Regions from separate parts of the Homo sapiens genome. Here regions 2, 3, 4, 5 and 6 are each linked to region 1. The links are contacts of gene promoters, found by promoter capture Hi-C in human tissues and cell types (Jung and others, 2019). All regions are on one chromosome and are shown on one strand. Each heading gives the region's core, a stretch centred on a gene start or on the middle of the fragment in contact. The rest is flanking DNA. Distances are from core to core; before and after follow the strand shown.

The links. The method cuts DNA at HindIII sites, captures the fragments that hold promoters and counts their contacts. A contact is called where the count stands out against the background at its distance.
Region 2: a contact is called between the fragment with the promoter of CLDN5 here and the fragment with the promoter of SLC25A1 in region 1, in 6 of the 25 tissues and cell types used here (IMR-90 fibroblasts, adrenal gland, lymphoblastoid cells and 3 more).
Region 3: a contact is called between a fragment that was not itself captured here and the fragment with the promoter of SLC25A1 in region 1, in 4 of the 25 tissues and cell types used here (dorsolateral prefrontal cortex, lymphoblastoid cells, mesendoderm cells and 1 more).
Region 4: a fragment that was not itself captured here is called in contact with the fragment with the promoter of SLC25A1 in region 1 in 2 of the 25 tissues and cell types used here (dorsolateral prefrontal cortex and lymphoblastoid cells).
Region 5: a contact is called between a fragment that was not itself captured here and the fragment with the promoter of SLC25A1 in region 1, in 3 of the 25 tissues and cell types used here (IMR-90 fibroblasts, dorsolateral prefrontal cortex and mesendoderm cells).
Region 6: a contact is called between a fragment that was not itself captured here and the fragment with the promoter of SLC25A1 in region 1, in 1 of the 25 tissues and cell types used here (spleen).

Annotation. Positions count from the first base shown.
Region 1 is chr22:19,177,128-19,180,364 of GRCh38, reverse strand. SLC25A1 (solute carrier family 25 member 1) reads left to right here and starts at 1,629. Exons shown (of 9, transcript NM_005984.5): 1 at 1,629-1,785; 2 at 2,125-2,232; 3 at 2,324-2,423; 4 at 2,500-2,638; 5 at 3,161-3,237. The coding sequence starts at 1,692. CLTCL1 (clathrin heavy chain like 1) reads left to right here. Exons shown (of 33, transcript NM_007098.4): 32 at 127-166; 33 at 396-892. The coding sequence ends at 146. RefSeq lists silencers at 1,033-1,132, 1,333-2,412 and an enhancer at 1,584-2,331. The HindIII fragment of the contact is 9,906 bases long and covers 1-3,237 here.
Region 2 is chr22:19,522,734-19,526,121 of GRCh38, reverse strand. It overlaps CLDN5 (claudin 5), which reads left to right and starts at 1,712. Exons shown (of 1, transcript NM_001363066.2): 1 at 1,712-3,095. The coding sequence starts at 1,867. The coding sequence ends at 2,523. RefSeq lists an enhancer at 3,097-3,388. The HindIII fragment of the contact is 10,668 bases long and covers 1-1,942 here.
Region 3 is chr22:19,650,051-19,653,239 of GRCh38, reverse strand. No RefSeq gene overlaps it. Among named protein-coding and RNA genes, the nearest start is that of SEPTIN5, 63 kb to the left of the region's middle. The HindIII fragment of the contact is 5,730 bases long and covers 1-3,189 here.
Region 4 is chr22:19,585,823-19,589,100 of GRCh38, reverse strand. No RefSeq gene overlaps it. Among named protein-coding and RNA genes, the nearest start is that of LINC00895, 21 kb to the right of the region's middle. The HindIII fragment of the contact is 3,211 bases long and covers 1-3,050 here.
Region 5 is chr22:19,605,937-19,609,188 of GRCh38, reverse strand. No RefSeq gene overlaps it. Among named protein-coding and RNA genes, the nearest start is that of LINC00895, 41 kb to the right of the region's middle. RefSeq lists enhancers at 1,640-2,213, 2,696-3,252. The HindIII fragment of the contact is 6,740 bases long and covers 1-3,252 here.
Region 6 is chr22:19,547,702-19,551,107 of GRCh38, reverse strand. No RefSeq gene overlaps it. Among named protein-coding and RNA genes, the nearest start is that of LINC00895, 17 kb to the left of the region's middle. The HindIII fragment of the contact is 6,562 bases long and covers 1-3,406 here.

The sequences.
Region 1 (3,237 bases), core at 380-2,879:
GGTGCTTGGACACTGTGGGGCAAACACAGGCCTGAGGGTGTGGTGTGAGTGTGCAGCACGCCGGCGGGTCTCCAGCGTCCGGCTGAGTGTGTCCTTCCACCATTAATGTCATTCTGGTTTTTTTAGATTTTGATGGGCATGAATGAGACCCAGCTGATTGCACTAAGTAAGTGTCCCATTTGGAGACTAGCTTATCCTCTAGCCAGGCCAGGTTCTCTGGCTGACCCCACGCTCCTTGCCTCTGGATGCCTGCTCTCTTGGGGCCTCAGCGTCTGGGTGGTAAGGGCTGGTCCTATAGACCCTGCTCCCTGGGCCCCGGGCTACTCAGGGGCAGCCAGGAGAGGACCCCCATGGGCAGGAAGAGCTCTGCTCATTGTGGGCTTCCCCCTCTGCAGGCCCTGCCGTGGGCCCAGCCCCTGCCAGCTTCCCCTATGGATATGCCTCTGCTCCCAACTTCGCCAGCCTCCAATGTACAACTTCCGCGTGTAGTGGGCGTTGTCACCACCCACCCTACCTGCAGAGTTACTAACTTCTCCAAGGAGCATGTCACTCCAGCAGCACAGGGGACGCAATGGGAGGCAGGGACACCTGGACAATATTTATTTTTGCTGAAACCCAATGACGGCAACCTCTGAGCCATCCCAGAGCCTGGGGAGGCCAGGGTAGAGGCTGACGGCGCAAGACCAGCTTTAGCCGACAACAGAGACTGGACTGTGGGCCCTCCTGCTGGAGCCAGGCCTTCCTCCTGGGCGCCTCCGACTGGCTGGAGCTGCCCCCTCCAGGCCAGTTTGAAGACTACATGAACACGTCTTGTTTGGAGGTACCGGACCTCATAAAAGGACTCTCAGCCTCTTGGCAATCATAAATATTAAAGTCGGTTTATCCAGGCAAAGGTGCTCTGCTTGGTGCTGGTATGGGTAGGAGGGACGGGCCAGTTTCCTAGGCCCCGCAGTCCATTAAAGATTTGCTGGGTCCTCTTTGGGGTGTGGGACCTCCGTTGCCCAGACAAGCTGCCTAGGAGAATACAGCCGCTTGCATTTGTGGTCTTTCCTGACCTTGTTCGCTGAGCGCAGAAACTACAACCGGGAAAGGTGTGGGTGGGAACCGGCAGGTGAGGCCCGGCCCGTGGCTGCTGCGGGAGGGGGGCCCGGCGGCGTAGCCCCTTCTCACCGGCCTCCCGCCTCCCGCCTCCAGGTTTGAAACGTTAGAGTTCCTCTGGGACTGGGCTAGCCCCACGTGTTTTCGGGGAGGGTGTGCCCCTGGCCTCCGGGATCCCTGGGGATCCCGCCGCTCTCGACAGTCGCGCAGACCCGAGGCCCGCTATCCCGCGGCGCGGCACACAGTGCACCTTGACCCACTGCTCGGAGCTGGGCCACGGCTCCGCCTCCCGCAGCCCCGCCCCCGTCCCGCCGCTCGCGGTCGCCCAGGGACTCGGCCTCGGCCATTGGCTGCGCTTTGGCCCCGCCCCTACGCCTGCCTCGGCGCGCCCCGCCCAGGCCTCAGTTTCCCGGCCCGCACGGGGCGGGCTGGGGGCGGGGCCTGGCTCGGACCACGCGGGGCGGGACCTGGAGCTGACGCGGCCGCCCCGCCCCTGGGACCATAACCGGCCGCCGCCGCCACCGCGGACCGAGCGCGGAGTTCTGGAGTCTCGGACCCGAAGCCGCCACAGGGCGCCCCGCCTCCCGCCCGCCATGCCCGCGCCCCGCGCCCCGCGCGCTCTGGCGGCCGCCGCGCCCGCGTCCGGGAAGGCCAAGCTGACGCACCCGGGGAAGGCGATCCTGGCAGGTGGGCCCCTCCGGGACGCGGACCCCTCTCCCGCCGCGCTTCTGGGTGGGCCCGGGACGCTGAGGCCCCGCCCCACTTCCGGGTTGGGCCGTGGGCTGGGGAGTCGTGGAGGCGCGGTCCTGGTCCCCACCCGGCGCGCTGGGACTCGCCCGCCTCCCGTCTGTCACCCCCTGCGCCTCGCCGGGACAACGGGGTGAGGGCATGGGGGCGTGGGGCCCCAGCCTATGTTCCCCGCGGCACTGGCGCGGCGGCCGCGCCGACCGAAGTCCGGGACGGGGGAGGGGCCCGAGCGCCAGCGGCCGGGCGGGAGTCTCAGGAGCGGGTTCCCGGTCCCTGCAGGCGGCCTGGCGGGTGGCATCGAGATCTGCATCACCTTCCCCACCGAGTACGTGAAGACGCAGCTGCAGCTGGACGAGCGCTCGCACCCGCCGCGGTACCGGGGCATCGGTGAGGAGGGGGAGGCCGCGGCGCCGCGGGGGGCGGGTACCCAGGGCGGCGGCACCGAGGGCCGTGGGGTCCTGACCGCCCCCTCCCCCAGGGGACTGCGTGCGGCAGACGGTTCGCAGCCATGGCGTCCTGGGCCTGTACCGCGGCCTTAGCTCCCTGCTCTACGGTTCCATCCCCAAGGCGGCCGTCAGGTGAGGCCCGGCCGGTGGCTGCTGCGGGAGGGGGGCTCGGCCGCGGCAGCCCCTCTCACCCGCCTCCCGCCTCCAGGTTTGGAATGTTCGAGTTCCTCAGCAACCACATGCGGGATGCCCAGGGACGGCTGGACAGCACGCGTGGGCTGCTGTGCGGCCTGGGCGCTGGCGTGGCCGAGGCCGTGGTGGTCGTGTGCCCCATGGAGACCATCAAGGTGGGGAAGGTCCTGGCGAGGACCCCGGACACGCAGGGAGTACGGAGACGGGCGGCCCCGCTGGCCCGGTGCTCCCGGGGCAACCGGCAAGCTGGGGAGGGTCTCCTGGACGCCAGGGAAGGCCGGCGGGGTGACCGCGGGGCCCTGGGGCAGGACGCCTGCCACGAAGGGCCACCCGTGGAGGCTGAGTCTATGCTAAAGGCAGCCTTAAAGTCTTTAAAAAATACTTTTATAAAGCAGAAAACAAAATGACACCTTCACTGCCAAAACTGGAAAAGAGCAGCAAACATAAAGGGAGAGGCTGCTCACAGGGCTGCCCTGTGTCCCAGAGCATGGTCCGTGTGGGCTGCCCTGTGTCCCGGGGCATGGTCCGTGTGGGCAGCCCAGGGCGGCCTTGGCTGCACTGCTTCCTGGGGAAGAGTTCCCAGTTCCCTCCACCCTGGATGGGCCCTGGGCCTGCCAGCTAGCCAGGACCCACCCAGGTGGCAGCCGAGAACCTGCGCCTTTGCTTCTCTCTCTCAGGTGAAGTTCATCCACGACCAGACCTCCCCAAACCCCAAGTACAGAGGATTCTTCCACGGGGTTAGGGAGATTGTGCG
Region 2 (3,388 bases), core at 463-2,962, 350 kb before region 1:
TACACAGAGGAGGAGATGTCCAGGAGGGTCTGTAGAGGAAGGGGCATGGCCCATGGGTCTGCAGCAGGAGGAAGGCAGTGACTAAAGTGATAGCTGGGAGAAGGCAGTGGTCCTCAGAGCCATACCTGGTGGGGAGAGGCCACGTGGGGCTGAGCAAAGAGGGTATGATTTCCTTCCAGCCTCAGGGCTGGGCACACTTGCCTTCAGAACCTCCCCACACTAGGTGAGCCAGACGCTGGCCTTATCTCATTTACCATCTCAGAGCCATCTGAAGGGGGAGAAGGGAACCGGGCCCCAGGAGGGAGAAAGTCATCAAACCTCCCACATCTGTGACCAGCCTCAGTGCCATACTTTTTCTATGGAGGGCCCTGTCCAATGGAACTGAGCACAGACCAGATAAAAGAACTGGGCACCCAGTGGCCTCAGTCCAGGGCCTGGAGTTCAAACTTTACTGGAAACAAAGGGGCCGAGAGAGACTGGGGAAAGAACTACTAGAAAGGGGCTGGTGCCCCCATGGGGCTGTGGGTTTTGGAGCCGCGTGCCCCCACCTGAGCCTCAGGGGGCCCGGAGTGTCCACACCAGTGGACCTTTCGAGAAATGGCTGGGCCATTGTGCAGAAGAATGCCCGGAAATCCCGCGCCTCCCTCCTCCAGCAAGGATGGGGGCTCTTCCTCCTGGCCAGGAAACTCCAAGTTGGCTTCCGGAGGGTGGCCTGGGGGCTGGGGTGCCAGGGACACCATCGCCACTGGTGGGAGGGCAGGGCACAGCCCCTCCGTGTCCCTTTGTCTCTCCTGTCTGAAGGCCAGAGCAGGCTGCTAGGCCTGGGGCCACCACTGCCCCTGGGTGCTACACCCAGTGTGCTGGGTCACTGGGAACTTCCTGAAGTGGTGTCACCTGAACTGGGCCCCCAAGGATGGGGTGCGGGCAGTACCGCAGGAAGAGGAGCAGCCCCTGTGAAGATTGAGAGGTCTGGGAAGCCCCTGCGGCTTGGGAGAGTGGGGGTCGCCAGGCAGGGGGAAAGCCCCTGTGCCACCGCTTTTTGCCAGAGACTCAGGCTCCAGAGAGGCAGTGAGTGGCATGGGGGGTGAGGCTGGGGCCCTGGGCCTGACCTCCACACGCCTGCCTGGCCTCTCTGTTTGCCATGGGATGAGAGAGACAGTGCTGGGACTCAGAGCGGGGCTGGAGAGTGAGAGTGCGAGAAAGGGCCTGGGTGGGGCTTGGACCCCGGGGCGGGCTTTCTGGAGAGCCCCCCTACGAGGGCCTCTACGGCGGTGACGGGGTGGGGGGCTTCTGCAAACCTTGGTCAGGGAAGTGGAGCTGGCTCGAGTGGAAGAGACCACCCGGCTCAGTCGGGGATGTGGGAGTGGACTGGGTGGTGCAGACTGGGGGTCGAGCGCCTTCTGAAGTGACGGGGCCGGGACGCGCAGGGAGGCGGCCCAAGAAGCGCGCCCTAGGCCAGCCCAGAATGCGCTCGGCCGCGACTAGGACAACGGCGGGTGGGGCTGGGGGCGGCTGCCGGGCGGGGAGCGGTCCCGCGCCCTCAGCTACCCCTCAAGAGCCGTTGTTTCCCTAACTTCAGCTGCCAGAGGCTCTGTGATTGGCTGCGGCACGATGACCCGCGCACGGATTGGCTGCTTCGGGCCGGGGGGCCGGGCCCGGGGGACAGAATCCGCCCCCGAACCTTCAAAGAGGGTACCCCCCGGCAGGAGCTGGCAGACCCAGGAGGTGCGACAGACCCGCGGGGCAAACGGACTGGGGCCAAGAGCCGGGAGCGCGGGCGCAAAGGCACCAGGGCCCGCCCAGGGCGCCGCGCAGCACGGCCTTGGGGGTTCTGCGGGCCTTCGGGTGCGCGTCTCGCCTCTAGCCATGGGGTCCGCAGCGTTGGAGATCCTGGGCCTGGTGCTGTGCCTGGTGGGCTGGGGGGGTCTGATCCTGGCGTGCGGGCTGCCCATGTGGCAGGTGACCGCCTTCCTGGACCACAACATCGTGACGGCGCAGACCACCTGGAAGGGGCTGTGGATGTCGTGCGTGGTGCAGAGCACCGGGCACATGCAGTGCAAAGTGTACGACTCGGTGCTGGCTCTGAGCACCGAGGTGCAGGCGGCGCGGGCGCTCACCGTGAGCGCCGTGCTGCTGGCGTTCGTTGCGCTCTTCGTGACCCTGGCGGGCGCGCAGTGCACCACCTGCGTGGCCCCGGGCCCGGCCAAGGCGCGTGTGGCCCTCACGGGAGGCGTGCTCTACCTGTTTTGCGGGCTGCTGGCGCTCGTGCCACTCTGCTGGTTCGCCAACATTGTCGTCCGCGAGTTTTACGACCCGTCTGTGCCCGTGTCGCAGAAGTACGAGCTGGGCGCAGCGCTGTACATCGGCTGGGCGGCCACCGCGCTGCTCATGGTAGGCGGCTGCCTCTTGTGCTGCGGCGCCTGGGTCTGCACCGGCCGTCCCGACCTCAGCTTCCCCGTGAAGTACTCAGCGCCGCGGCGGCCCACGGCCACCGGCGACTACGACAAGAAGAACTACGTCTGAGGGCGCTGGGCACGGCCGGGCCCCTCCTGCCAGCCACGCCTGCGAGGCGTTGGATAAGCCTGGGGAGCCCCGCATGGACCGCGGCTTCCGCCGGGTAGCGCGGCGCGCAGGCTCCTCGGAACGTCCGGCTCTGCGCCCCGACGCGGCTCCTGGATCCGCTCCTGCCTGCGCCCGCAGCTGACCTTCTCCTGCCACTAGCCCGGCCCTGCCCTTAACAGACGGAATGAAGTTTCCTTTTCTGTGCGCGGCGCTGTTTCCATAGGCAGAGCGGGTGTCAGACTGAGGATTTCGCTTCCCCTCCAAGACGCTGGGGGTCTTGGCTGCTGCCTTACTTCCCAGAGGCTCCTGCTGACTTCGGAGGGGCGGATGCAGAGCCCAGGGCCCCCACCGGAAGATGTGTACAGCTGGTCTTTACTCCATCGGCAGGGCCCGAGCCCAGGGACCAGTGACTTGGCCTGGACCTCCCGGTCTCACTCCAGCATCTCCCCAGGCAAGGCTTGTGGGCACCGGAGCTTGAGAGAGGGCGGGAGTGGGAAGGCTAAGAATCTGCTTAGTAAATGGTTTGAACTCTCTCCCACCTGTGTCCTGTTCTCTGTCCAGCCATCTTCCGTGTCCAGCAGCCCCATTCATCACCCACCAGCCCCGCCCTCCCAAGGACTCCTGTGGAGACCTCCTCCCAGGGCTGGAGGCTGGGGCTCTTTTCCCCATCCTCCCTGCCACCTTCCCACCAGGTGGGAGACACAGCCACCACTTACTACAGCCCAGAAAGGCGGGATCTGCGGTCAGAAGAGCTGCTGCGTCATGGGGCCCTGGGGCCCGGGATGGGACAGGGGCGGGGGCAGCGGCAGACCCCAGCAGAAGATGC
Region 3 (3,189 bases), core at 655-3,154, 470 kb before region 1:
ATATGAATTTAAGATCAGCTTGCCCATTTCTGCAAAGAAGTCAGGTGGCACTGAGTTTGTAGATCAATTTGGGGAGTATTGCATTATTACAGTTGATCCTTGAACAACCCAGGTTTGAATGACACAGGTCCACATATGAACACATTTTCTTCTGCCTCTGCCACCCCTGAGGCAGCAAGGCTAACCCCACCCTTCCTTCTCCTCCTTGGATGTGAAGGCAGCAAGGATGAAGATCTTTATGATGATCCACTTTCACTTAATGAATAGGAAGCATATGTTATCTTCCTTGTGATTTTCTTAATAACATTTTCTTTTCTCTAGCTTACTTTACTGTAACATACAGTATACAATACACATAACATACAAAATATGTGTTAATTGATGGTTTATGTTATTGGTAAGGCTTTCAGGAAACAGTAGGCTAGTCATAGTTAAGTTTCTGGGGAGTCAAAAATTATATGCGGATTTTCACCTGTGCCCCGAATTGCCACCATCATTCAAAGGTCTACTGTACATGTTCTTCTTCTTCTTTTTTTTGAGACACGGTCTCACTCTGTTGCCTAGGCTGGAGTGCAGTGGTACAATTTCAGCTCACTGCAACCTCTGCCTCTTGATTTCAAGCGATTTTCTGCCTTAGTCTGCCATGCAGCTGGGACTACAGGCGCCCACCAACATGCCTGGCTAATTTTTGTATTTTTAGTCGAGATGGGGTTTTGCCACGTTGGTCAGGCAGGTCTTGAACTCCTGACCTGACCACTTCAGGATCACCTGAAGTGATCCGCCCACCTTGGCCTCCCAGAATGCTGGGATTGCAGTCAGGAGCCACCATGCCTGGCCAACTGTACATCTTCTAATCCACAAACACAGGATGTCTTCCCATTTACTTGGGTCTTCCTTAATTTCTTTCAACAATGTTTTGTACAAGTCTCTCACTTTTTGGGTTAAATTTATCCCAAGTATTTTATTTTTTTCATGCTATTATAATCGAATTATCTTCTTACTTTTATTTTTACATTGCTTATTGCTACTGTATAGAAATACAATGGATTTCTGTATATTGATCTTGTATCCTGCAACCTTGCTGAACTAGTTTATTAGTAATTGTTTTCTTTTGTTTTGGATTTCTTAGCATTTTCTTTATACAAAATCACATCATTTTCAAATAGAAATAGTTTTGCTTCTTTATAATCTGGGTGGTTTTTCTTATCTAATTGCCCTGTTTAGAACCTCTATTACAATGCCGAATAGAGGTAGTAAGAGTGAACATCTTTGTCTTGTTCTTGATCATAGGGGGAAAGCTTTCAGTCTTCCACCATTATGATGTTAGCTGTGGGGGTTTTTATGGATGCCTTTTATCAGGTTGAGAAATTCCCTTACAGTCCTAGTTTGTTGAGTGTTTATCATGAAAGATTGATGGATTTTTGTTAGATGCTTTCTGCATTTATTAATATGCTCATGTGTTTTTTTGCCCATCTTTTTATTAATGTGATTGACTTGATTGATTGATTGTTGGACCAACTTTGCACTCCTGACATAAATGCTACTGACTCATAGTACAGAATCCTTTGTATATGTTGCTGGGTTTTGTTTGCTAGTATTTTGTTGAAGATTTTTGTATTTAAATTCTTAAAAGATATTGGCTTATAGCTTTCTTTTGTGTGTGCTTTTGTCTGGCATTGTTTTGTGGGTATTCATGGAATGAGTTGGGAAATGTTCTCTTCTTTTTTACTGTTTGGAAGAGTCTGTAAAGTATTGGTGTTAAATACTGTTTAAGCATTTGGTAGAATTCACTAGTGACACCATCTCACCCTAGGCTTTGCTTATGGGAAGTTTTGTTTGTTTTGTTTTGTTTTTTACTAATTCAATCTCTTTACTTGTAGTTCTATTCAGATCTTCTATTTCTTCTTGAGTCAGTTTCAGAAGTTTCTAACTTTCTAGAAATTTGTCTGTTTTATTTAGTTTATCTAACTTGTTGGCATGTGTATTAGTTTTCTATTGCACTGATAAATTTCCACACACTTAGTGGCTTAGAACCAAACAAATTTAATATCATGTAGTTCTTGAGGTCAGATATCCAAAATGGATTTCAAGGAGCTAAATTCAAGGTGTTAGCAAGGCTGCATTCCTTTTGGAGGCTCCAGGATAGACTCTGTCCCTTTGCCTTTTCTGGCTTCTAAAAGTCACCTATATTCCTTGGCTTGTGACCCTTTTCTCTATCTTGAAAGCCAGCAGCATAGCATCTTCAAATCTTTGACTCTAACCCTCTTGCTTCCCTCTTTCGTCTGTAAGAATCCTTGTGGTTATCTTGAGCTCATCCAGATAATCCAAGTTAAGACTCCCATATCAAGATCCTTAACTTAATCATATCTTCAAAATCCCATCTGCCATTTAAGGTAACATCTTCATAGGTTCCAGGGATTAGGACATAGACATCTTAGGGGAACATTATGCCACCTGCCACAGCATACATTTGTTCATAGTATTCCCTTATAATCATTTTTCTGTAATGTTGGTGGTGATGTTTTCTTTTTCATTCCTAATTTTAGTAATTTGAGTCTGACTTTTTTTCTTAGTCAGTATAGCAAAAGGCTGTCAACTTTGTTGATCTTTTTTGAAAAGTCAACTTTTGGTTTTATTGATTATTATTTTCTTTTCTCTTTTAAAATTTATTTCCACTGTAATCTGTATTTTTTACTTCCTTCCACTTGCATTATTTTTGGTTTGCTCTTCCTTTTCTAGTTTCTGAAGGTGAAAGTTTATATTATTAAATTGAATTTTCCTTGTTTACTAATATAGGTGCTTATAGCTTTAAATTTCTCTCTAAGCACTATTTTAGTGCATCCCATAAGTTTTGGTAGGCTGTGTCTTATTCTTCTTTAATCTCAAAGTATTTCCTAATTTCCCTTACGATTTCTTGTTTTACCCATTGGTTACTGTGTTGTTGAATTTCCACATATTTGTGAATTTCCCAAATTTCCTTCCGCTATTGATTTCTAATTTTATTCCATTGTGATTTGAGAAGACAATTTGTATGATTTCAGTCCTTTTAAATTTATTGAGACTCATTTTATGGCCTAATATATGGTCTATCCTGAAGATGTTTCATGTGCAATTGAAAAGAATGTATATTCTGCTAGTGGGTGGAGTGTTCTACAGATGTCTGTTAGTTATAGTTGGCTTATAATATTG
Region 4 (3,278 bases), core at 196-2,695, 410 kb before region 1:
TAGTTAAGACCCCATCTCTAAAAAAAATTAAAATGGGCTGGGCGTGGTGACTCACACCTGTAATCCCAGCACTTTGGGAGGCCGAGGCGGGTGGATCATGAGGTCAGGAGATCGAGACCATCCTGGCTAACATGGTGAAACCCCGTCTCTACTAAAAATACAAAAAATTAGCCTGGTGTGGTGGCGGGCGCCTGTAGTCCCAGCTACTCGGGAGGCTGAGGCAGGAGAATGGCGTAGACCCAGAAGGCGGAGCTTGCAATGAGCCAAGATTGCGCCACTGCACTCAGCCTGGGCGACAGAGCGAGACTCTGTCTCAAAATAAAATAAAATAAAATAAAAATAAAAAATTAGTAGGGCACAGTGGCACACACCTGTCATCCCAGCTACTTGGGAGGCTGAGGCGGGAGGATAATTTGAGCCCAGGAGTTCAGGGCTGCAGTGAGCTACAATGGCACCGATGCACTCCAGCCTGGGCAACGAAGCAAGACTGTTTCAAAACAACAACGACAAAGGAATAAAGGTTTGGCACATGTAACAACACAGATAAAGCTGAAAAACATTGTGCTGAGCGAAAGGTACCAGACAAGAAGCAGCATAGAGTGAATGATTCCACTTCTGTGAAACCCTGAAAGCTAAATCTAATCTCTAGTGACCAGTGTTTGGCCAGGTCTGTGAATAAGGGATTTGACAGAGACTGCAGCACAAGGAAGCTTCCCGGGGAAAGGGGAACACCCTGCGTTTTGATGGTGACGGTAAGTACATCAGCCAATTCATTGAAAAATGGTGCATTTTTGTGCATTCATCTTTGCGCATTCATTTTAAGTGAATTGGCTGATGTAATTACCATCACCATTAAGTGAATTATATTTTAATAATAAGTGTGATTTTAGAACGTAAAAAACAATCAGAACTGTGGATAAATTCATTCTCTTCCTTTGAAGATGTGTTCTTGGGCTTGAACTAATAACCAGTCTTGGCAGTCACATGGGTTTTTACTCTATGAACTGATTACCTGAAATAAAGGGCCCAAGATTTTTAAAGTGCCACGTATGGGCAGTTCCAAATCTTTAGGCTTTTCCTTACAATCCATTCACTAAAATATGTTCCATTTTATTCTACTTGAAATTATCAGAATTTCATTTCTTGGGTAATTGTTATTTTAGGTCACACTGAGTAACTGTAGGCTAGAATTACTGCCTGGCAGCTCAGAACATGAGGGGACAAATACAGACTTTTGCTCTGGGAAGCGCACGGCCTTTGGTTATGAGAAAGGCTTAGCCCTTGTCTTCAAGTGAATTGGATTTCTGCTGTGATTTGGGTGTGTTTAGCAGGTAAGGAAAGAGTACAGGAGCAATAGGGGCTGGCCAGGGCTGCACAGCCTGTTGGTGGGAAGGTCCAGACAGACACTGCCCCTGGCCACCAGGGTCTGGCTCAAGCCACCTCTCATAGGAAGATGCGCCTTAATGATTCAGAGGGTACTATTTTCATAGACTTCAAATCTAGCATTGTACTGCCTGGTACTTTGGTTTCCTGAACAATAGTCCAGTTAATTCAGCCTGGGCAACATAGCAAGACCCTATCTCTACAAAACTTTTTAAAAAAATTAGCCAGGCATGGTGACACATGCCTTTAGTCCTGGCTACTTGGGAGGCAGAGGCAGGAGGATCACTTGAGCCCAGGAGTTTGTGGCTGCAGGGAGCTAATGATAGCGCTGATATGGAAGGGAAGTGCTGGGAAGGGAACAGCGTGGTCCCTTTAAATGATACAGGAGTGGGGAAGAGAAGTGCTGGGTAGAGGAGGGCATGGTCCCTGGCTAGAGCTCCACCACTATGTACCTAGGTGAGGATAGGCACTCCTGCCCAAACATTGCATTTACCCAGAATGCCCTGGCCTGCTGCATCCCCATGATGTGCCTATGAAAACCCCCAAGACCCTAGCAGGCAGACACAGAAGTGGCTGGACATCATGAGGAACACACTGGCAGAAGGAGACGCAAGCCGCTGGACTTTGAGAGGATGTTGAAAGGAGCACTCTGGCAGAAGAGCACACTGGCAGACACTGGCAGGCTCTCGACTGGTGGAACGACGTGGAGTTTGGCCAGGGCAGTCGAGGAGAGCCTGGGCTGCTGAGCGACCCGACTCCAGGGGAAAGCCACCTTCCCACTCCATCTCCCTTCTGGCTCCCCCATCTACTGAGAGCTACTTCCACTCAACAAAACCTTGCACTCATTCTCCAAGCCCACGTGTGATCCAATTCTTCCGGTACACCAAGTCAAAAACCCGGATACAGGAAGTCCTCTGTCCTCGCAACAAGGTACAGGGTCCTTTTTTTCTGTTTTTGTTTTTGTTTTTTTTTTTTGTTTTTTGTTGAGATGGTGTCTCCCTGTGTCGCCTAGGCTGGAGTGCAGTGGTGCAATCTCTGCTCACTGCAACCTCTGCCTCTGGGGTTCAAGTGATTCTCATGCCTCAGCCTCCCGAATAGGTGGGATTACAGGTGTGAGCCACCACACCCGGATAATTTTTGTATTTTTAAGTAGAGACGGGGTTTCGCCATGTTGGGCCAGGCTGGTCTTGAACTTCTGACCTCAAGTGATCTGCCCACCTCGGCCTCCCAAAGTGCTGGGATTACAGGCATGAGCCACCATGCCAGGCCTAGAGGGTCTAATTGAACTGGTTAACAAAAGCCACCTATAGACAGCAAAACTAAAAGAGCAAACAGTAGCACATGCCCACTGGGTCCTGGCTGTAAACATTAACCCCTAGACATTGCCCTGGGGCCGGAGCCCCACAGCCTGCCCATCTGTATGCTCCCCTAGCGGTTTGAGCAGTGGGGCACTGAAGAAGCGAACCACACCCCCATCGCCTGCCCTGCGAGGGGGACACGGGAACTTTTCCTGTTTCAGCACCACTGCACTCCAGCCTGGGCAATAGAGGGAGACTCTGTCTCAAAACAAAAACAAAAACAAAAACAAAACACAAAAAAACACAACTGGGTGCGGTGGCTCATGCCTGTAATCCCAGCACTTTGGGCCAAGGCAGGCAGATTGCTTGTGCCCAGGAGTTAGACAGCAGTCTTGGCAACATAACAAAACCCCATCTCTACAAAAAATACAAAAATTAGCTGGGTGTGGTGGCATGAGTGTGTAGTCTCAGCTACTCAGGAGGCTGAGGTAGGAGGATTGTTTGAGCCCAGGAGGTACGTGTTGCAGTGAGCTCAGGTCACACCACTGCAATCCAGCCTGGGTGACAGAATGAGACCCTGCCTCAAAAAAAAAGAAA
Region 5 (3,252 bases), core at 573-3,072, 430 kb before region 1:
AGTACCTGGGATTACAGACATGTGCCACCACGCCTAGCTAATTTTTGTATTTTTAGTAGAGACAGGGTTTCATCATGTTGGTCAGGCTGGTTTCGAACTCCCGACCTCGGGTGATCCGCCCGCCTCAGCTTCCCAAAGTGTTAGGATTACAGGCGTGAGCCACCGCACCAGGCCAAGATGAAGAGTTCTAGGGAGTGGCTGCAGCACAGTGAGAATGGATTTAACACCACTGAACTACGCACTTAAAAATGGGTAGACCTTTTATGTTCTGTATGTTTGACCACAATCACATATTTTTAAAAGAAAGGAAAGGATGCCTGAGATTCAGATCAGAGCTCTGACAGCCAGTTTGTTTTCTGTGTCCAACCCATTTTTCTTTGCTTCTGTCTCCCTCCATTTACTGACCCTCACTTTACTTTAAAAACCAGATCTCTGAGGAAGGCATGAGGCAGCCAATAGCCACCTCTGGAGGCCAGGAGGCACTGGCACCGCGATGCTGTGGGGTACGGTGTGGAGAAGGCAGTGTGGCCCTGTGAGCTCGTGAGCCAGTGGGGACAAAGCTCACAGCCATCGATGCCACGCAGCTCAGGCACCACACAGAGACGGCCACCAGCCTGGAATCTGCTCCATGTCTTGGGAGAAAAGGAGCCTAGAACTCAGCCAAAGCATGAAAGCCTGGGTGAGAAATGCTGGTTTTCACTGAGAGAACTGAAATAGAAACTTCAGTCTCTTTCTGCCAAAGACACCAAAGCCTCTGGAATCTGAGCCACTGAGGCCTGAAAAGCAATTCTGGTTCTGGGGCTTATCACCACCCCCATTAACCCCCTCAGTCAGGGGCTGGCCACCCCACTGCCCTGGACGCTGTTTAGGGCATGGCCCTTCACACACCTCCCCACAGAGGCTGCATCCGAGCTCCCCTGAGACTCACCACCTCAGCTCTTCTCATTGGCTAAATCCCATCCACCCTTCTGGTGTGGCTTCCTCTAAGGGACCCCCTGACCACCCAGCCTGAATGCACACTTAGGTGGATATGAGTATTTATGTGTGATGCTGTCATCCCCTGAGTCTGCCCCCTGGTTCCCAGCCTGCTCAACTCTGTATCCCAAGCGTCTGACAGGAATAATGATTTGCTGAAGGTTGAATGAACCCACGACACTGTCGGGGCTCAGACTCCTGCAACGTTACTGAGTAAATCCACGGGAGGAGAGACGGAGCTCAGCCTGGGACAGGCCTTCCCGTGGCACCAGCCTGGCCTTGGGAACACAAGCTTTTCAGGAACCTGCTGCTCATAAAAACTGTATAGTTGTCAAAGCCGAGCACATTCTGCTCCCAGGTTAGAGGGTGCGCGATTCTATCCGAATGTTGATTCTGAAGATAAACTGCCCTTTAGCAGCAAGTGGGGCTGAAAATGAGGCTCTCAGAATGGAAACGCAAACTTCGAAACTGGTGAGGGCGGGAAGCTGTTGTAAACATCGCTGATGCATAGTCGGCCCGTAGCTCAGCTCTCTCTTTGGGAACCTTGCCCACCCCCTCCCCTGCCAGGCAGCAGGCTGCACGCCCTGCCTCCCTCCGGGAAGCACCTGGCCTGACATCACTCCACTGTCATCAGGCAGAGGACGGGCACATCCTGTGCTCAGCCCTCCAAAAGCAAACACAGCGGGCTGGGGAGAGGCTGGAGCTGGATGCAGGGCACCTGCAAACCCAGCCCTCTCCCTGCTCCTGGAGGCACAGGCACCTCCTCCCCGGGTGCGAGGAGCAGCCCTGAGCAGGGCTGCCTAATGGGGAGGCAGGCTTGGGCCCACGCAAACCTTTCTGTCTTTACTGTGGGTGCATCGGCACCAAGGGCAGGGGCAGGCACTGCTCTTCCGGTGTGACAGCAACCCGGTGCCGGGTGGAGAGGGATGACAGGGAAAGGTGAGAGGGAGCTTCCCAGAGCACCGGAAATGTCCTATCCCTGGGTGGGATGTAGATTTCATGAAAGTTCATCAGCCAAAACTCCTGTTATGGGAAACAAGATCTGTGCATTTTGTTGTATGAAAATTATGCCTTACTTAAAACAAAACGGATCACACCCACTAGGATGACTGCTATTAAAAAAACACACACACACACATGCTGGTGAGGATGTGAATGAAGACGGTGGGACCCTCATGTGCAGACGGTGGGACCCTCGTGTGCCGATGGTGGGAATGTGAGATGGTGCAACTGCTATGGAAATCAGTGTGGCTGCTCCTCAAAAGTTAAAAGTAAGAAGAGCCTCTGATCCAGCACACCATTTCCAGGTGTAGATCCAAAAGAAGCGAAAGCAGGATTGGGGCAAATGCCCACCCATGCTGAAGAGATAGAGGGAACCTGAGTGCCCATGAGGAGATGAATGGATAAAGAAAAGATGACACATCCGCAGAAGGCAGCATCACTCAGCCTGGAGAGGCAGGGAACTCGGACACACACCGCCACGTGGATGGACCTTGCGGATATTATGCAAAGTAAAATAAGTCAGTCACAGAAAGACAAATGCGGAGTGAGTCCACTGACATGAGTTCTCTAGAATAGCCAAATTCACAGACAGAAAGCAGAATGGTAAGCTGGGGAGGGGCTGAAAAGAAGGGAGAAAGGAGAGTTGTGGTTTAGTGGGTACAGTGTTTCAGTTTTGCAGGATGAAAAGGATTTTGGAGACTGGATGCACAACAACGCGGATATACTTAGGTTATACTAAGGATATACTTAGGATATACTTAGGTTATCGAACTGGGTGCTTAAAAATGGTTATGATGATAAATGTCATGTTGGGCGTTTGTTACCACAAGTGAGTAGAAAAGCTGCACAGTGATGGGGCCAGGGATCTTAGCAGCCCCCATCATCCTCATCCTTACTTCTCAACCACGCGGCCCTGGCCCTTCTGTGTCGGCCCCACTTCCTCAGGAAACACCAGCCGTGGCCTGAAGAGACCCTCCAGAGTCCCCGTGGCCGACCCCAGGCCTGCTTCCCCACCGACTGGCTGGGGTGTCTCCTGTTATCTGGAAAGGCTGCTTCCCAGAGCAAGTCTAGAACCGCCCCACTGGGAGCAGATGGTACTATGCGAAGGCCACTGTCACGCACGGGGCTGCCATCCCACGGGCTGGCCCTGGGCAGGTGGGTCTCTGGGACCAGCTCTGGCAGCACAAGAGGAGCCCCCGGCCCTGCCACCCTTCAAAGAGCACCACCTGAGCACAGGACAGAGGCCCGCTGCCTGTGGGGCCACCACAGACCCCG
Region 6 (3,406 bases), core at 411-2,910, 370 kb before region 1:
ATGAAATGTCCAGAACAGGCAAATCCACGAAGACAGAAAGTAGATTGGTGGATACCTAGGGCATGGGGTGGGGAGAAGTGGAGAATAACTGCCAACAGATTTGTGGTTTCTCTTGGGGAAATGGAAATGTTCTGGAATTACACCGTGGCGATGCATGTACAGCATAGTGAATATACTAAAGCCACTGAAGTATAAACTTTAAAGTGATTAATTTTATGTTATGTGAATTGTATCTCAATAAAAAATGTTTTAAAAAGGAAAGAAACAGCTGGGCATGGTGGCTCATGCCTATAATCCCAGCACTTTGGGAGGCCGATGTGGGAGGATCACTTGAGACCAGGAGTTCTAAACTAGCCGGGGTGACCATAGCACGACCTCGTCTCTACAAAAGAAAAATTTAAAAATTCACCAGGTGTGGTGGCACGTTCTTGTAGTCCAAACTACTCAGGAGGCTGAAGGAGGAGGATCGCTTGAGCCCAGGAGTTTGAGACTGCAGTGAGCTATGATTACACCACTGCACTGCAGCCTGGGTGACAGAGTGACACCCTGTCTAAAAAAAAAAAAAAGGAAAAAAATCCAACTAGAACGGTCTTAATATAGCAATTTATTGGCTCATGCCAGTGGATGTTCAGAGGTAAGGCAGGCTCCAGGGCTGTTCAGCTTACAGGCTTTACAGAACCATCATAGAGGCTGGACGCAGTGGCTCATGCCTGTAATTCCAGCACTTTGGAAGGCTGAGGTAGGCAGATCACCTGAGGTCAGGAGTTCAAGACCAGCCTGGCCAACATGGTGAAACCCCATCTCTACTAAAAATATAAAAATTAGCTGGGGCCAGGCGCAGTAGCTCACACCTGTAATCACAGAACTTTGGGAGCCTGAGGCGGGCAGATCACCTGAGGTCAGGAGTTTGAGACCAGCCTGGCCAACATGGTGAAACCCCATCTCTACTAAAAATACAAAAAAATTAGCTGGGCGTGGTGGTGGGCGCTTGTAATCCCAGCTACTTGGGAGACTGAGGCAGGAGAATCGCTCGAACCCAAGATGCAGAGGTTGCAGTGAGCTGAGATCGTACCATTGCACTCCAGCCTGGGCTACAAGAGCAAAACTCTGTCTCAAAAAACAAACAAACAAAAACTGTGATAGAAACCTGAGTACCTTCCATTGCTCCACCCCTCAGCTTTATCCTAAGGCTGGTTCCCTTAGTGATGGAAGGATGGCTGCCAAGCAATAGGAGTGCGGAGTTTCCCTCTTCGTGTGTTGGTAGGAGCCATTTTTTCACATGGCTGTATCTTGAAAATAAGGACCCCGGTCCCAGAATCCCCAGCAATCTTGCACTGGCCAATTGCTGGCCCACATAGGGTCACATACGCATTCTGAGTCCATCTCCAGCACTAAAGGAAATGCATACCCAGCAGGCTGGGGCCTAACCTCTAAACCTGTCATTGTCAGAGCAGTGGAGATGCTGTGATTTCAGGGACTAGTGACACCAGTGACTCGGGTCCGTCCAACAAGCCACCTTACAGCCACCTAGTGGAGCCTGGACCTGCCCCAGACCTCTATTGCTGTAGATATTTTATGACGGACCCCACTGTGCAAGATGAAGAAATCTTCCTGCTCTACCTCCCCGTTTCCATCAGCTTTACTATTATTTCACATCATCAAGGTTGCTTACGTTTTCCTTTGTTCTCGCATTACTATCTCCCATCTGGGACTTCCTCGTTGACAGGGTGGCAAGCTTGGGCTTCCTTTATGGTCATTTTGGCCTGCTGATCCTGGGGTCTCTGGTCCTGTGTTTGGAGGTGGCTGTGGGATGTGGGGGGTCCCATCCCAGGGCAGACTTCTTTGTAGGGTGCATGTAGTGGCTGCACTCCAAACACCCCAAACCTCAGTGGCCTGAAACAGCAACAGTCATTTCTGTCATCTCTCATGGCTCTGGGGTTGACTGGGCTCGCCTGGGTGGTTCTTGCTCAGATAGTCACAGAGGCTGGGGTTGCTTGGAAAACTCTTTCCCTCTATCTGGTAGTTGATGCTGGCTGCCAGCTGGAACATCTACATGTGGCCTCTAAGTCTGGTCTGAGTTGCTCACAACATGGCGACTGGGCTCCAAGAGTGAGCCACTAAAGAGGATGAGGAGCAAGTTGTATCACCTCTTATGATCTAGCCTGGAAGTCACATAGCATCATTTCTGTCACAACCTTCCCAGGTGCAAGGAGAGGGAATATAGACCCCAGCTTTTGATGGGGAGCACATCAGCATTGTATCATAAGAGCAGCACATGCTTGTACACCCATGTTCATGGCACCATCATTTGGAACAGCCAATACGACTGTATTTTTAAAAACATTTTTTGAGGCAGTCTCACTGTCACCCAGACTCACGTGCAGTGGTGCGATCACTGCTAACTGCAGCCTCAACTTCCCAGGCTCAAGCGATCCTCCCACTTCAGCCTCCCAAGTGGCTGGGACTACAGGCATGCATCATCATGCCTGGCCAATTTTTTTTGTAGAGAAGGGGTCTTGCTATGTTGCCCAGGCTGGTCTTGAATTCCTGGGCTCAAGTGGTCCTCCCACCTTGGCCTCTCAAAGTGTTGAGATTACAGGCGCAAGCTACCATCCCTGGCCCCAAGTGGACTTTTGGTTGATGAATGGATAAACAAATGTAATATAACTATATAGGGGAATTTTACTCAGCCTTAAAAAGGAATGAAGGGGCCAGGCGCGGTGGCTCATGCCTGTACTTTGAGAGGTTGAGGCGGGTGGATCACCTGAGGTCAGAAGTTCAAGACCAGCCTGGCCAACATGGCGAAACCCCATCTCTACTAAAAATACAAAAATTAGCAGGGCGTGGTGGCAGGCGCCTGTAATCCCAGCTACTCAGGAGGCTGAGGCAGGAGAATCACTTGAACCTGGGGGGCGGAGGTTGCAGTGAGCAGAGATCGCGCCACTTCACTTCAGCCTGGGTGTAAGAGCAAAACTCTGTCTCAAAAAAAAAAAAAAAAAATGGAATGAAGGGCCAGGCATGGTGTCTCACGCCTGTAATCCCAGCATTCAGGGAAGCAGAGGCAGGTGGATGCTTGAGCCCAGTAGTTTGAGACCAGCCCAGGCAACATGGCAAAACTTTCTCTACAAAAAATACAAAAAAATTACCAAGGCATGGTGGCGTGCACCCGTAGTCCCAACTACTCGGGAGGCTGAGGTGGGAGGATTGATTGAACCTGGGAGGTTAAGGCTGCAGTGAGCCATGATCAGGCCACTGCACTCCAGCCTGGGTGACAGAGCCAGATCCTGTCTCAACAACAACAACAACAACAAGGCTGAGTGTGGTGTCTCATGCCTGTATCATCCCAGCACTTTGGGAGGTCAAGGTGGGTGGATCACTCGAGGTTGGGAGTTTGAGACCTGGCCAA